3 separate regions of the Homo sapiens genome follow, and all the other regions are linked to region 3. The links are contacts of gene promoters, found by promoter capture Hi-C in human tissues and cell types (Jung and others, 2019). All regions are on one chromosome and are shown on one strand. Each heading gives the region's core, a stretch centred on a gene start or on the middle of the fragment in contact. The rest is flanking DNA. Distances are from core to core; before and after follow the strand shown. Region 1 overlaps TOP6BL (TOP6B like initiator of meiotic double strand breaks). Region 2 overlaps TOP6BL (TOP6B like initiator of meiotic double strand breaks). Region 3 holds the start of RBM4B (RNA binding motif protein 4B).

Region 1 (3,011 bases), core at 140-2,639, 77 kb after region 3:
CTAATTTTTTGTATTTTTAGTAGAGACGGGTTTTCACCGTGTTAGCCAGGATGGTCTCTATCTCCTGACCTCGTGATCCACCTGCCTTGGCCTCCCAAAGTGCTGGCATTACAGGCGTGAGCCACCGCGCCCGGCCATGTTTTTATGTTTTTTAAGACAGAGTCTCATTCTGTTGCCCAGGCTGGAATGCAGTGGCATGATCTCGGCTCACTGCAACCTCCACCTCCCAGGTTCAAGTGATTCTCCTGCCTCAGCCTCCTCAGTAGCTGGGATTACAGGTGTCTGCCACCACACCCAGCTAATTTTTATATTTTTAGTAGAGACAGAGTTTCACCATGTTGGCTAGGCTGGTCTCGAACTCCTGACATCAGGTGATACGCCCAGCTCAGCCTCCCAAAGTGCTGGGATTACAGGCATGAGCCACCACGCCTGGCCAACCAGGACTTAGTCTTATTGCCACAGCCCTGCAGTTGCAAGGAAGACTGAAAAACGTAGTCAGATTATGTGTTCAGGAAGAAGGAGAATGGGGTATTTGTTTGCGAGCACCAGCAGTCTCTGCTGTGGTCTCCATTGTCACAATGATGCACCTGGGTGTGGGTGTGTTTTCAAACATTGTGCTCAGCACTCAGCAAGACTTTTAAACCTGGAAACCCTTGTTCTTTGGTTCTGGGAGATTTTCCCTTGCATTCTCTCTTTTCTTTCCCCCCTTTCTGCAACTTCTATTATTTAGATATTAGACTTCCTAGACTGGTTCTTTTTCCTTTTTAAAATCGTTTCTCTCATAATTTTTATCTCTTCTACTTTCTAGGCATTATCTTTTTGAGTATATAAAGATTTTTTTAAAGTTTTCTTTTCTCCACCTCGTTCTTGTTTCCCTTGTATTGCTTTTCTTAGTCTGGTGTCTGTTTTCATGTTAGAAGCTTTCTTCAAATATCTTAAAATTACTGGTTGCTCATTTTTAAGAGTTAGAGACTATAAAGCTGATTTGAAATTTTAGCATCACTAAAAGGTGATCTAATTGGGCTTTTAACTGGGGAACTTTCTCTTCTCTTCAATATCAATATCTTTAGGTCTTTGCTCTTGGAATGACCAGATCTTTCAGTCTCTTACCAAGTGGGTAAAAGCCAGACTTGATTCTGGGAATGAGAGAGAAAAGGGGGTATTGGGTATCTCAGCATTCAGGGGTTCTGTTCACTAACTCCACTTGTTTTTAGTACAATTTTGATTCTCGTCCCAAAGATTGACACCTTGACCATTTTCAAGTATCTTCTCCCCAATCCACACCAAAGTTAGGGAGGAGCCAGTCCCTTGAATGCTGAGTGGAGGAGGGAATCTAAAGATTTATTTAAATTCATTTTTCAACAGACTCTCCTTAATTTATCTTCTACCTCACCCATACATTCAGAGGTTCCTGATACTGCCATGCCTGAGTGTTTTGCAATTTTATTATATAAATCAGGTTGTTTCTTGGCCTTCCCTGTCCCCTTATACTTAGATTACTCAGGTCTCCTAAATCCTTTCCTACTAGTCGTTCTGCTTTGTAGTTTCTAGATTTTTTTTTTTTTTTTGATATAGAGTCTCACTCTGTTGCCCAGGCTGGAGGTGCAGTGGTGTGATATCAGCTCACTTCAACCTCCGCCTCCTGGGTTCAAGAGGTTCTCCTGCCTCAGCCTCCTGAGTAGCTGGGCCTACAGGTGTGTGCCACCATGCCTGGCTAATTTTTGTATTTTTAGTAGAAACGGGGTTTCACTATGTTGGCCAGGCTGGTGTCGAACTCCTAACCTCAGGTGATCCACCTGCCTTGGTCTCCCAAAGTGCTGGGATTACAGGCATGAGCCACTGTGCCTAGCCTGTAGTGTCTAGATTTTTATTACAATCATGTTTGTCTCTTGTTTTCCATCCTTGTGGGTTTGTGCCCTTATAAATCTCTTTTCTATTATTTTATTGAGGTTTCAGGAGGGAATGAAAATAAACGTGTGTGTTCAATCGGCTGTCTTTACCTGGAAGTGTGCAGTGGTATCTTTTAAATTTGGTTTGAAATCTCTGCTCTCTAGGGCTGCTGTAACAAAGTACCACAAACTGGATGGCTTGAAACAAAATATATTTATTTTCTCACAGTTCTGGAGGCTAGAAGTCCAAAATCAAGGTCTTGGTATGGTTGGTTTGCTCTGGAGACTCAGAAATCTGTTCCATGCCTCTCTCCTAGCTTCTGGTGATTGCTGACAATCCTTGGTATTTCTTAGATTGTAGGTGTATCACTCCCTGCCTTCACATGGCATTCTCCTCTGTATTTCTCTCTTTCTTCACATGGCCTTCTTATAAGTACACCAGTCAATGGACTCAGGAACACCCTAATCCAGTATGACCTTGTCTTAACTTGCTGGCATCTATTTCCAAATAAGGTCATATACACTGGGGCTAGTACTTAAAACTATCTTTTGGGGGACATAGTTCAACCCACAACAGACTAGCAAATTTGATATCTGAGATGATTCATCTATCAGAAGCCAAGAGATAATTAGTTTTTTCCATCAGTAATTATTGAAGGCTTTAACAAATATGATTTTCATGATGTTTCCCAAAATGTATGCCACAGAATATTTATATGAGTTATAAGAAAGGAGTTATGTAGTCATTTAAATTTGGGAAATGTTAGTTAAAATAAGTTTTTAAACTATAGGTCTGTTCAGGACCTCTCATGTGCCAGTGTGGACTATGAAACATACTGTTTGGGAAATGCTACATACAGTTAACCCCCTTTTCCCCCCTTTTTTTTTTCTCAGGATGGAGTCTCACTCTGTTACCCAGGCCGGAGTGCAGTGGCGCAGTCTCGGCTCACTGCAACCTCCACCTCCCAGGTTCAAGTGATTCTCATGCCTCAGTCCCCCGAGTAGCTGGGATTACAGATGCCCACCACCATGCCTGGCTAATTATGGGTGAGGAGTGCTTCCACCTGCTCCACATCCTATCCAGCCCTCAATTTTCAGTTATATTTCCAATGCTTTTATATA
Region 2 (2,959 bases), core at 340-2,839, 95 kb after region 3:
ATAAATGTCTTTACCTTCTATTTTTCTGAAAAGGTTGAGGTTATCCAAATGGCACTTCTTCTGGATTTCTTTTTTTCTTTTTTTTTTTTTAGAGATGAGGTCTTGCTATGTTGCCCAAGCTGGTCTTGAACTCTTAGGCTCAAGCAATCCTCCCACCTCGGCCTCCCAAAGTGCTGGGATTACAGGCATGAGCCACCATCCTCAGCCATTCCAATTTCTTTTTAAGAAATTTAAATTTGAGGCTGGGCGTGGTGGCTCACGCCTGTAATCCCAGCACTTTGGAAGGCCAAGGTGGGCGGATCATGAGGTCAGGAGATTGAGACCATCCTGGCTAACATGGTGAAACCCCGTCTCTACTGCAATAGAATGTGGCTGCCATGCTGGCTTTGCAACTTCAAGAGATCCTCTGCACCCTTACACTTCTCAGCCAATTTGTGGAAGAAGTGGCCAGTGCCTTCCAGTGCCACATCATTGTGGTCAAAATAGAAGCCCAGAATGAGAGAGATGTAGGAGGCCTACAGATACAAATTGACCAGGCGATTGACAGCTGCCTCCAACTCGATGAAATAATTCTGATGAGTCTAGTTGGCAAGAAGGAGCTAACCACAAAAACAGTGTTGGCTGGTCTCAGAAGCAGGAGATGGCCGAGAAGATGGTCCTGGAGGTTGCAAGTGGAGAGGACAGTGGAGGGCAGTTGGAGGCTGGAAGAGAGGGAGTCCCTGGGTTTGTTCCATCCAAATACTATTGAAGCAAGAGACAGATGGGTGGGACTGTCAAATGCACTGCCAGAACATCCATGAACAGCTCATGGTTCAAGAAGTAATTTCAACTTTTAAGGCTTATTATTTAGGAAATACATTTTATAAGACTATAGCTGCCATAGATAGTGAGTAGAGTCAATTAAAAACCTTCTGGAAAGGAGTCACCATTCTAGATGCCATTAAGAGCATTCGTCATTCATAGGAGGAGGTCAAAACATCAACGTTAACAGGAGTTTGGAAGAAATTGATTCCAACCCTTATGGATGACTTTGAGGGGTTCAGTACTTAAGTGGAAGAGTTAACTGTAAATGTGGCCCGGCCAGTAAGTGGTATTTTTTTAAGAATTTCATTTTCCAACTGTTTCTTGCTAGTATTTGAAATACAATTGATGTTTATATATTTTTCAAGCTTGCTAAACTAGCCTGGGAAACATAGCAAGGCCCCATATCTACAAAACATTTCTAAAAGTTAATTGGGCATGGTGCTGCATGCCTATAGTCCTAGCTACTCAGGAGGCTGAAGCAGAAGGAGTGATTGAAACCAGGAGTTGTAGGGTGCAGTGAGCTATAATTTTGCCACTGCACTCCAGCCTCGGAGACAGAGCAAGACCCTATCTCAAAAAATAAAAATCTTGGCCGGGCACCGTGGCTCATGCCTGTAATCTCAGCACTTTGGGAGGCTGAGGCGGGCAGATCATCTGAAGTCAGGAATTCGAGACCAGCCTCGCCAACATGGCGAAACCCCGTCTCTACTAAAAAATACAAAAATTAGCTGGGTGTGGTGGTGCGTGCCTTTCTTCCCAGCTACTCCAAAGGCTAAGGCAGCAGAATCAGCTGAACCTGGAAGGTGGAGGTTGCAGTGAGCTGAGATCATGCCACTGCACTCCAGCCTGTATTGTTAGATTTGATTTGCCATAATTTTATTAAGAATTTTTGCATCTATGTTCACAAAGGATATGTGTAATTTTCTTTTCTTGTAATGTCTTTGTCTTTTTTTGGTACAAGTAATACTGGCCTCATAGAATGACTTTGGACATATTCTCTGTTCTTCAATTGCCTAGAAGAGTTTGTAGAAGATATTATTTCTTCCTTAAATATTTGGTACAATTTCTTCCTTAAATATTTGGTGCAAATCATCAAGGAAGCCATCTGGGCCTGATTTTTTCCTTCCTAGGAAATATTTTAACTACAAATTCAATTTCTTTAATAATTATACAGTCTCTCTCTCTCTCTCTCTTTGAGACATGGTCTCTGTCGCCCAGGCTGGAGTATGGTGGGGCGATCTCAGCTCATTGCAGCTTTGACCTCCCTGGCTCAAGCGATCCTCTTGCCTCAGATTCAGGACTATAGGCCTGCACCACCACACCTGGTTTGTATTTTTTGTAGAGACAGGGTCTCACTGTGTTGCCCAGGCTGGTCTGGAACTCCTGGGCTCAAGCGATCCTCTTGCCTCAGCCTCCTAAAGTGCTGGGATTATAGGCACGTACCACTGCACCTGGCCTTTTTTTTTTTTCCTGAGTGAGCATGGGTAATTTGTGTCAAGGAATTTGTCCATTTTATCTAAGTTATTGGGTTATTGACATAAAATTGTTCATAATTTTCCTTATTATCTTTCTAATGTTTGTAGAATCTCTAGCAATATCCTCTTTCTTACTCCCTGGTGTTGGTTATTTATATCTTCTCTTTTATTTTCCTTGATCAGTCTGGCTAGAACCAGGTTCTTCCTGTTGTTCTATTTCATTCATTTACACTCTGATCTTTTATTCTTTCTTTTGCTCGTTTGGGGTCTTACTTGCTCTTCTGTTTCTAGTTTTATAAAGTGAAAGCTGCAATCATTGATTAGAGACAGTTCTACGCTAAAGTCATAATGACATTTTATGTAATTTCTTTTTTCTTTTTTTTGAGACAGAGTCTCGCTCTGTTGCTCAGGCTGGAGTGCAGTGGAGTGATCTCAGCTCACTGCAACCTCTGCCTCCCAGGTTCAAGCGATTCTCCTGCCTCAGCCTCCCGAGTAGCTGGGATTACAGGCCCCCACCACCAAGCCCAGCTAATTTTTGTATTTTTAGTAGAGACACCATGTTGGCCAGGCTGGTCTCAAACTCCTGACCTCAGGTGATCCACCAGCCTTGGCCTCCTAAAGTGCTGGGATTCTAGGTGTGAGCCACCATGCCCAGCCTATATAATTTCTTTAATAGTGCT
Region 3 (2,865 bases), core at 239-2,738:
CACTCGAATCAATGCAAGAATCCCGCAGGGTAAAGTAACCCACAGTTTGTGATTCTATGCAGTCGGTGAGCAACATCTTAGCAAACCTGAAAAGGGGAAGTGTTTGCTTCCCCAGGGGTAAATTATGCTTAAGAGCGGTAAACATAATCTATTATTTCCAGCTAAAACAGAATGGAAGAGACCACCCAGCAAGTTCTATAGTCTTGTGTTCTTGCCTGTTTTGAGCTAGACCCCACTCGGCGCTACTACCCAGGCCCAGAGCAGTTCACCTTGAAACTCTGTGTTGTCAAGGCCCCTGATGGCCTCCACTGCATCCTCTGCCCGCTCCATGTGTACGAAGGCATAATCTTTCACGATGTCACATTCGATGACCGGACCATACTCCTCAAACTTGGCTCGAAGCTCTTGGTTGGTACAAGTGGGGCTGATGTTACCCACGTGTAACTTGGTTGAAGCTTTGCTCTTATTCTTGCTGGCTTCCACGTTGATGTTCACCCCATGAAGCTTGTAATGGTGCAGGTTGCGTATGGCATCCTCAGCTGCCGTCTTGTCTTCTATGTGCACAAAGCCGTAATTCTTAATGATGTCACATTCCAGCACCTTCCCATACTGCTCGAAGAGTGAGCGAATCTCCTGCTCTGTAGCCTCCCGGGGAAGGTTTCCGATGAACAGCTTCACCATCCTGACAAGAGCCTGGGAGAGAAACACAAGACTTCAAAAGTCAGGGGTGTGGTGGGAAATTTCGGTGCACTGCAGCATTTTCGTCTAATCCTCCAAAGTTCTTGCACCTTCAAGACCCTCGTACAGACATTCATTATTCTTCCTCAATAGAAGAAGGGCGGTTTGTTCTCGAGAAGTGCGAGCTATGCGTGACATGCAAACAGGAGGTCGAGGGTCAGCATGCATAGCCCAGTCTATCATCTCCGTGAAGTGGAGCGCAATGAAATACCAGAATTAGCTGCTTCATGTCTTAAAATGAGGGAAGAGAAAAGCCCAAGCAAAGGCAAGGGGCATCAATCGCAGTGCGCCTGGTAACAAGGTTTTGGAGGGAAATCTGTGTACCTCTCCTGCGCGCACTAGCGCCTTTCAAGATACTCTAAAAAGAAAAAAGTCCCCTTTCCCCCAAACCGGGGACCAACCACCTCGCCCCCAGCGGCCCACCCTCCAGCTTCTTCGCCCCAACAAAGACTCGACCCGACCCCTGCCCCGCCTCCTTCCGGAGACCCGGCCCCGCCTCCTCCCGTTGTCTTCCCAGACCTCCCGCTGCAAAATGAGAAACCCAAATCCGGGCCGTGCAGTCTGCCGGAGGCCCGGCCCGACCCGCCCCCGAGCTCCCCACATCACACACACACGACCCCCTCGCACCTCCGGGTGGCGGCAGCGACGGCGGCTCCCACGTCAGAGAGAACCTTACAAAATGGCGACGGCCGCTCGAGCCTGGACGCGACCGGGCCCTTTCTCGCGCGCCAGCTCACGCACGCGCGAGTGCGCGCTGCTTCCCTCCCCTTCCCCTCGCGGGAGCCGAGTGACCAATCCCGAGGCTGCATACAAATGACCACGCAGCACGGGGGCGGGGCCTGTTGGTGGTGGCGCGGCGCCGCGGAGGTCAGCCCACCCCCAGCCCCAGCCAGCCAGTCACCACCCTGGAAAGGGTCGCCACTGCTGCGTCAGAGGGGCTCTGAACGCAACCACTGCCTAGAAAAGCGGAGGCCTTGGGGAGTCGCTCACCACAATGGGTCCTGCTCTTGGGCCCTTTGAGGGGGGCGGGGAGCTAATGACAGAGGAATCTCCCCGAGGGCCCTAAAAAGGGGCTTTTGTAGCGGGCTGGCCGGCTTCTGTGGCAGCTTGGGGCAACATTTCAAAAATACAGGTGCGCCACATTTTAAGCAAAACTAGTCATTGTTTTGTAGCGCTTTAAACATTATTTTAAAGTTTGTCATTGCAGAGGTGTTATTTATTGCTACGGAAACTGAGAACCAAGGGGCAGAAAGATAACCTGGCAGAACTGGGACAGGCCTAAGAGGCATTGCTACCCAGGCTACGCTTAGTCATGTTTTGTTTGCTCGTGAGTATCCGTGGTCTGATTCTCTCTCACTCATTGTGTGTCCATCACAGTCCTGGTCTGTGGTGAGCACGCCAGAGGAATACTTGGTGGAGAGGCCCAGCGAGGTCCCTAGTTCTGGGTGGGACAGGGTCTCCTCGTACACACCAAGCTGGAAGTCTAGGCAACTGAGTTTCCCGACTGTCTAGCATTCAAAATTCAGCTGTGGTCCAAGGGCACCTCCTGGCGGTAAAAACAAGCTTAGGCGTGCCAGGTGCGGCGGCTCACGCCTATAATCCCAGCACTTTGGGAGGCCAAGGCGGGCGGATCACGAGTTCAGGAGTTCGACACCAGCTTGGCCAACATGGTGAAACCCCGTGTCTACTAAAAATACAAAAAATAGCCCGGCGTGGTGGCGGGCGCCTGTAATCCCAACTACTCGGGAGGCTGAGGCAGGAGAATCGTTGGAACCCGGGAGGCGGAGGTTGCAGTGAGCCGAGATGGCGTCACTGCACTCCAGCCTGGGTGACAGAGCAAGACTCGGTCTCAAAAAAAAAAAAAAAAGAAGTTTAGGCTGATTCCCCACTGTCACCTTCCAGCAAAGAGTAGCCTTTTATGGAGATTGATGGATTGGGTTTATCTCCTAGTAGAGCCCGCCAGGGAGGTTGTCAGCCACCATTCCTCATTTTAGTGGCTCCATAATGGCTTCTCTGATACCATCTGGGACACATTCCCCAGGCTGCCCTCTTCCACCCCAGCTACTTGGATATGTTCTTTACCTGAGTTCTTTTTGTTTCTCAGCCATTTCAGAAGAGGCACTGTCC

Evidence for each region. The method cuts DNA at HindIII sites, captures the fragments that hold promoters and counts their contacts. A contact is called where the count stands out against the background at its distance.
Region 1: a fragment that was not itself captured here is called in contact with the fragment with the promoter of RBM4B in region 3 in 5 of the 25 tissues and cell types used here (H1 embryonic stem cells, IMR-90 fibroblasts, mesenchymal stem cells and 2 more).
Region 2: a contact is called between a fragment that was not itself captured here and the fragment with the promoter of RBM4B in region 3, in 3 of the 25 tissues and cell types used here (bladder, liver and mesenchymal stem cells).

What each region holds. Positions count from the first base shown.
Region 1 is chr11:66,753,570-66,756,580 of GRCh38, forward strand. All of the region lies in intron 1 of TOP6BL (TOP6B like initiator of meiotic double strand breaks), which reads left to right. Among named protein-coding and RNA genes, the nearest start is that of TOP6BL, 10 kb to the left of the region's middle. The HindIII fragment of the contact is 4,704 bases long and covers 1-3,011 here.
Region 2 is chr11:66,771,093-66,774,051 of GRCh38, forward strand. All of the region lies in intron 2 of TOP6BL (TOP6B like initiator of meiotic double strand breaks), which reads left to right. It also overlaps the pseudogene FTLP6. Among named protein-coding and RNA genes, the nearest start is that of TOP6BL, 28 kb to the left of the region's middle. The HindIII fragment of the contact is 4,546 bases long and covers 1-2,959 here.
Region 3 is chr11:66,676,399-66,679,263 of GRCh38, forward strand. RBM4B (RNA binding motif protein 4B) reads right to left here and starts at 1,489. Exons shown (of 4, transcript NM_031492.4): 1 at 1,366-1,489; 2 at 270-693. The coding sequence starts at 681. RefSeq lists silencers at 1,102-1,211, 1,412-1,691. The HindIII fragment of the contact is 6,531 bases long and covers 1-2,865 here.